Linked DNA regions of Homo sapiens: region 1 is linked to region 2. Evidence: promoter capture Hi-C in 16 types of primary human blood cells and fetal thymus (Javierre and others, 2016). All regions are on one chromosome and are shown on one strand. The core of a region is centred on a gene start or on the middle of the fragment in contact, and the rest is flanking DNA. Distances in the headings are between cores, read along the strand shown. Region 1 overlaps RYK (receptor like tyrosine kinase). Region 2 holds the start of RAB6B (RAB6B, member RAS oncogene family).

Region 1 (3,430 bases), core at 223-2,722, 310 kb before region 2:
TAAATTTGTAGGAAAAGAATCTTAAAGATTGGGGAAAAAAATTATATGCACTGAAGTCTGTTATCCCATTGTTACAATTATGGATTAAAATCAATTTCTGTTGAGAAAGGTGATAGCTGACAATTTATCAGATTCATTTACAGGTTTATATTTAATCTTTTTATTAAGAGCAGACATACTTGCATTTTGGTAGTGAGTTGTCTTTCCATTTGATCATGTAATTTCTGTTGTTACTATTGCTGATGTGTCTGTTAAGGTTTGCCTTATGATCCTTCAGTTTTAGTGTACTGGAATAGCAGGACTTATGAGACAAAGTGGTGTATTAAAAACAATGAGCAGAAGTTGAAAACAATTATCTCTTCATTGATGTCTTGGTTTGTTCTTTAATACTAACTTTTATATCCATAATGAATTAAATGCTTAATGTCTAGAGGTGTGGTAGTCTGAAGATCTCTAAAAACTTTTGTTTAGTTACTTTATTTAAATGTATTACTTTTAGTTTTCTTGCAGCAAAAATAAGTAATTCTAAAATGTTTAAAAGAATCATTTTGGGGCATTAATGTTGATTTTTAGAAAATGTAAAATATTTTTCTTATCTTTTTTAAACAGTGTTTCGGGTAGAGCTTTCCTGTACTGGCAAAGTAGATTCTGAAGTTATGATACTAATGCAGCTCAACTTGACAGTAAATTCTTCAAAAAATTTTACCGTCTTAAATTTTAAACGAAGGAAAATGTGCTACAAAAGTAAGGAATTTATTTACCAAAATATGTTTTACATGTATGTGAGAAGGTGAAAAATAGAGTTTGTTGTTTTTTCACAGATTTAAGTATGTCCAACTCATGATTATAGTTGCAAGTGAGAAAAGAGCACTGGCAGGTGAAGTTTTGAGATAATCCCAGATGGTTGGTAGCCAAGAATCTCACTCAGGCCTCATTCAGTCCATGCTTTCTCAAATCTTTTGTCAGAATTGCTAAGATGTTTTCCATTAGGAATAGTGCTAAAATGGTTGAAGAGGTAAAGAAATAAGAAAAATCTGTTGGGACTTCTGAGTAACTATGTTAACTGTGTTTCCCTTATCAAGTTACTTTTATGCAGAAGCATTGCTCTCGGGTGAGATAGACCTGGGTTGGAATGGCAGCTCTGCTCTTTTCAGGATATTGATACAAGTTACTTAACCTCTCTGAGGCTTAGTTTTTTCATCTGTAAAATGGGCATAATACCTGTTTCAGAGGTTTGTTGTTTTTTACGGTTCATTAAATCTAGCCTAAAACTTAGAATACCGTATGTGGGTACTTAGCAAAGTTAGTTCTTTTTGGTTTTGAATTATCTGTTACTGAAGAAATCGAGTGGATATGAAAGAGTTCCAGCATGCTAGGTCATAAATCAAAGAATTTTAGAGTTCTCCTTACAAGTTTAGTCCAACCCACTCACTGTAAGTTCCACAAAGCTACAGTGACCCAAATTTACAAGGTCACGTAGGTAGAATTGGTTAGTATCTAAGATGGGGGGGGGAAATATACTTTAAAAAAACCTCGCAAACCCTCAGTGCTTACTGTGTTCTAAGTGCTTGATAGGTATTACACCTGTTTAATCCCTACAGCAACCCTAGGCAATGGGTTCTCTCATTGTCTTCATTTTCAGAAAAGGAAGCTGAGCTTCAGAGAATCTAGCTTGTCAAGATCAGATAGCTAAGTGGTGCAGCTAGGATGCAGACCTGTTCTCTCAGCCTCTTTGTTAAACTTTCTTTTAATAAATTTCCCAATTGAAATCAGTGCTGAGTGTTATGAAAACACCTAAGGCCAACAAGTGAGTTGAATTGGCTAATGTCTGGGTACATGCCAATAAAAAAGCTGCACTACATTTGAATAGACATTTTAAGAAAGAAGAGTTAGCATCTTTCAGCTTTAGTGTTTTGGTACAATTTTCAGTTCTACTATATTCAGTTATATACCAACTTCCATGTAATGTTAAAGACAAAGGAGATTTCAGAGACTCTCTACTCCAATGTAGTCATTATATATTTGATATAAGGAGATTGGACCCTTGGCCACCTAGGCTACCACAGCTAGCCAGTGAGGAGTGTAAAACATTCAGTTCCTTATCCTCAGAGAGATGGGCATGACTGTACCATGGTGCTTCATCTGTTACTCTTAAGTAAGGCAGAATGATAACCAGACATGGTGTGGCCTCTGGATCCCACCAGTGCTAATATCTGCTAAGGTTAATGATCAGCTGATACTCAAAATGGTCACATACTTTCTCCATTTTCTTTAATATGTGTGTGAAATTAACATTAAAATTCTGTGTTGGAGTAATTTTCTATTCTGTTTTAGACTTAAGTTTTTCTCTGGCCCTCTGTATTTGTTGGTCATGGTTTTGGCCACCCTAGTCATCCAGTTCAGGCTCATGACTCTTACTTTATTATGTGATCCTAATGTATTTATTTATCTGGTTTTCCAGCCTACTATATTTCAAAAACTGTCTGCAACAGAAAACATCTGTACTATATGGAATGTTAGTAGGTGTTACTAGCAAGAAAAGTTTCTTTTATCATATGAGGATGGGAATTATGGGTTAGACAAGTTTTGTGACCCCATAACTCCTTTCAGTCTTTATATTCTAATGTTCACTGTGAAGCTCCAAAGAGACACTATAGTATGTGGCTTTTCCCAAACTTCTTGATCATAGGAACATTTTCACTGAGCATCTAGAAGTAACACCCTTTGGCTAACAGTGGTATAGACTATTGATTGGTGACTGTAGTGGTGATTATCAGAATAGTAACATAGCTTTCATTATCTCGCAACACATACCTGTTGCTGAGTTCCAGCAATGTTCTGATAATTATAGTAATTAAGGATTTTCATGGAAAAGAGAATTTCTAAAGCATCATTTTTCTCCTTTAAATTCAGAACTTGAAGAAGTAAAAACTTCAGCCTTGGACAAAAACACTAGCAGAACTATTTGTAAGTGTTACTGTATTATCTTTATCCATTATTAGAAATGAAAAATGGTTGACTGCATATAAACATGATTGCATGAAGCTTGGAGGCCTCATGGTATCAAATGATAATGACACCATGCTGTTATTTTGCTGGTGCTTTGTAGACTGGTGGATAGGTCATGAAACTGTTAGAATATTGAATATTTTGAGAACTAAAATTTATACGTATTTTGTAACGAGTAAGCTAAAAAGTTTTACAAGCAAGAATATCATATATTTTTGAGTAGTCATAATTAAAGTATGACCATGAAATATGTGTAAGATGTTTATTAGCAGAGGGTTAGAAAATCTGGCTTGCAGTCTGGACCTAATCTTAAGCTAATTTCATCCAGGTGAAGGTGTAAGCTTAAAGATATTATGTTACTTAAACCTACAGAGCAGGTATGCAAAGTAGATTTTTATTTTTTGGTATCGGTTGTGTTTAG
Region 2 (3,804 bases), core at 1,305-3,804:
GGATCTCAGAAACATGATGTTAAGAAACATGCAAGTCAGGACAGAAAACACAGTTTGATACCTTATATAAGATTCAAAAGATGCAAAACAAAACAAAGTATTGTGAAGGACACATCCAATGTGATAAAACTCAAAGAAAAGCTAAGATTCTGGATTTCCAAGTTGGGGAGGGAGGAAGGAGAAGAAAGCACCTGGGGGCCTGAAAAGTACTATAATATTTGAGCCCTCCAGCTGTGTAGAGGGTAAATGGGCACTCAGAGTGATAGGTTTTCTTTGTAACTTACATATACACAGCACATACTAAATAGGAAGATTTAAAGAATTTTTTTAAATGGAATGCACAGATTCTATGATATGGAAGAAACTCTTTCTAGTGAGGTTGCCAGGCTGAGGTTCAGTGGCCCCATTTTCCACCTGGAGAAAGTCTGTCTGCTTTAGGGCAGGTTAAGGACAAGACTCAAAATCAGGGGAGATAAGCAATGATAGTTGGAGGAGAGAGACTTGGAGCAGAGCAAACTTGGAGTCTCTAAGGCTCTCATTTCCACAGCATGATGACTGCATTCTGAGAGCAATGCCAGTATCTGCTCCAGCGACGTGAGCCCGGTAGTCGGAGCCGGGTTTTTGTCATTTGAACTGGAAGAATTATGACAGAGTCCCCCAAAGTAAGCTGGACCATAGTCAGCCCAGCTGGACCTGGTAAGCATATGGGATGACTTGGAGGCTTAGAGGTGCCCAGAGGGGCCCTGCCCCAGCCCTCCCTCCCCTACTGCCATACCACCTTACATGTGCGGGACCAGATGATCAGAGGAGGTACAGGACCTGCCTAGGCTTACCCAAAAGATGGTGCCTTTTCTGGCACACCTCAGCTGTTTTGTCTTGCCACCGATGATCTCATCAGGTCAGGATGAGAGGGTACAGGGAGACAGCACTAGATGTTAGGAGAAGGTGCAGGTTGGAGGAGTGTTGCATGGCTGGGTACCTTGGCCAGTAGCTCACTGGCCCTTCTTTGGAGGGATCACTTATAGAGACGGGAAGGGCTGTGACTTGGGAGTCTCCTCTCCTTTCAGAGCTTTCTTCAACCCCAAGCTGGATATGGTCTCCTAAGAGAGCAGGAGCCCCAGAGAAGTGGGTGGGTGTCTGGAGGGTTACCCTGAGCCTGGTGCCAGCCACAACGGGGCAGATATTCTAGGTGATGACTTACAATCCCTGGGGTTCCAAACTAAAGGTAATTATGAGAATAGGACAGTTATTTTGATTTGAGTTCTAGATGTTCATTCAAACATTCAACAACTATTTCTTAAACTCTGAGCTATGTCCTTGGGATGCAGTGGTGGAGCTTCAACTACTGCTTTTATGGAACTTGTGGTCAGGTTTCTAACAAGAAATAGGAAAGAGATTCGAGGTGAGCACACCAGGGAGACAGATAGGCTTGCCCAAGCAAGCCCCATAAGTCAAAAAGGGGGTAACAAGTGTCCACGAGAAATCTGGAGGTGAAGGTTGTGTCTCACTCCTCTTTCTCTTTCTATAACACATGCGTGCACACACCATCGTGTTCACCGACATGCAGATTATTATCTCAAATAAATGCTCACTGAACAGCCATAAATGAACAAGACCACGCTGTGGCAGAACAGTAAGGGACAGCTTTGTAAAACCTCAATTAACCAGCATGCCTTAGGCTCGGGCTGTCTTGGGAGTGTTTCTAGCACTTGGCGTCTGCTCTTTGCTCTCACTCACTCACAACTTGGTCTGTGTGCCTCGATGGACCAGGCAAGTAGAGGCCAAGGAGAGGTCGCCCACATGTCCTCAGATAGCTCATTGTCCAGATACACCTAATTGCCAGGGTGGGGAGTGGCATTGTCAGCCTGGCGACCCCGGGATCAAGAAACGCAGGGCACTGTCCTGGAGATAGTGGCACTGGCATTCAGAGCGTCACCGTTCCTTCTCTCCCATGGGGCAGGTTAGGATTTGGCATAAAATGATCCAAATGAGCAGCTGGTTTGAGGTAGGCGCGCCTGATATTGGCAGCTCCTCTCTCGCTGGCCAGGTCTGCGGGGGCACCCACAGACTCCACAAGAGGCCGCCCAAATAAAGGGTCTAGGCCTCGAGAGGGAAGGGCGGGCTAGAAGCCACGGGGGGCAAGAGTCGAGCCCCATCTGCGCCAAGTACGCCAGGTTTCCCTAGGTCTGACCGCCCTGACGGGCCTCGCCACACCCTGGCTCTCCCCCACCTTCGTTCCTTTCCGCCCTGTCGGTCGGACGACTGCGCTGTGCATCGGTGTCTCGCGAGGTGGAGGAAGGGACTGGCATCTAGGTTTAAAAGACCAGAAACAAATGTCCCCTGACAATTTCTGTCATTTTCTGGATTCAAAAGAGGGGTAGAGTGGGGAAGACAGACGCAGCGGGGCAGCGAGACACGGTCCCCCCCGGGGGGCTCTCAGGGGTACGGCGAGGAGGTTCTCTCCTGCCCGGGTGCGGGCTCGGGTGGGCGGGCGCACGCCCCCCAGCCCCGCAGCCCCGCGGGCCCCGCATGACATCAGAGGCTGGGGAGCGCACAGAGCGCAGGCGCCGGCGGAGGAGGCAGGCGGGAGGGGGCCGACTGGCGCGGCTCTGGAGAGCGCTCCTCCGCCCCGCGCGCCGTCCCTGCGCCCCGCTCCGCCCGCGCCTCTCTCCCAGCGCCGCGCCTCGGGCGTAAAGAGCGCGCCCCTCGCACCGCAGCCAGTGCCGACCGCAGCAGCCCAGCCCCAGCCTTCCTCCGCCTCCGCCTCTCTCTCCTCCTCCTCCTCCGCCGCCGGACACGCAGCCGCAGGCCGGGACCGGGACGCAGCTGGGGAGTCAGGGACGCGCGCAGCCAGCCCTTCCCCCTCCGGCTCCCGCACCGCCGGCCGCCTCCCCTCGCCCTCCTACTCTCCCCTCCCTGCTCCTTCGCTTTTTCCTCCTCCTCCTCTCCCGGCCCCGGCTGCCAGCACCATGTCCGCAGGGGGAGATTTTGGGAATCCACTGAGAAAATTCAAGTTGGTGTTCTTGGGGGAGCAGAGCGGTAAGTACCCGGCTTAATCTCTTGGCTTGTCGCCGAGTCGACCCCCGCCGCCCAATCGCCCACCCCATTGGGACCCCCGGCCCAGGCTCGGAAAGGCCCCTCCTTGCCAGGGTAGAGGAGAGGGACAGGGATGGGGAGGTCGGGGCGGGGTCGGGCTGGGGAGGGGCCAAGGGTGAGGACGGAGGAGGCGCTGGAGCCTGGGGTGGAGGTGAGGGTGGGCTCTGGGTGGGGGGCCCGGGGTGTGGGTGCAGGTGCGGCGCTGCAGGGGGCCCGGAGGGCGGCGGCTGGCTCCGCGGCGCTGGCCAGGGCGTGAAGGAACCGGGCTCGCTGGCTAGCTCACACTGCGGCACCGGCTGCGGGCGACCGCGCAGGTGGCTGGGTGCTGGCGGGGGTGGGGAGAGCGACGGGCGCCCCCCTTGGAGAACGAAGCGAAGCTGGGGTCTGGCCGGGCCTCACTCCGCTGCACTGGAGGGGTGTTCCCTGCGGACCCTGCTGGGAACCATGCGAAAGGGCACGTCCAGGGCGTGGGACAAACAGCCACCGGGGAGAAAAGAGCGACACCTGTCTCTGCTCGAAAGAGCGAGTGCAGGCCATGGGGGAACGGGGAGCCTACCTCCCCTGGCTCACGTCCGACTGGGCACAGAAGGTTCTAGACCCGCTGCCCTTCGCCGGCGCTTGTTAGTCTCCTTGCTGCCCAGGGATCTGGGCAATTGCAGTGAGGGCTACCCCAACTCGAGGCGATTTGGGGAATGATACAGGGGCACC

What was found. Contacts are between HindIII fragments. The CHiCAGO score rates a contact against its expected background, and 5 or more counts as called.
Region 1: a contact is called between a fragment that was not itself captured here and the fragment with the promoter of RAB6B in region 2, in 2 of 17 cell types (megakaryocytes and erythroblasts). The highest score is 6.8, in megakaryocytes.

What each region holds. Positions count from the first base shown.
Region 1 is chr3:134,207,009-134,210,438 of GRCh38, reverse strand. RYK (receptor like tyrosine kinase) reads left to right here. Exons shown (of 15, transcript NM_002958.4): 4 at 610-744; 5 at 2,914-2,967. Among named protein-coding and RNA genes, the nearest start is that of RYK, 42 kb to the left of the region's middle. The HindIII fragment of the contact is 3,151 bases long and covers 1-3,047 here.
Region 2 is chr3:133,894,632-133,898,435 of GRCh38, reverse strand. RAB6B (RAB6B, member RAS oncogene family) reads left to right here and starts at 2,554. Exons shown (of 8, transcript NM_016577.4): 1 at 2,554-3,039. The coding sequence starts at 2,970. RefSeq lists a silencer at 2,535-2,584. The HindIII fragment of the contact is 7,968 bases long and covers 1-3,804 here.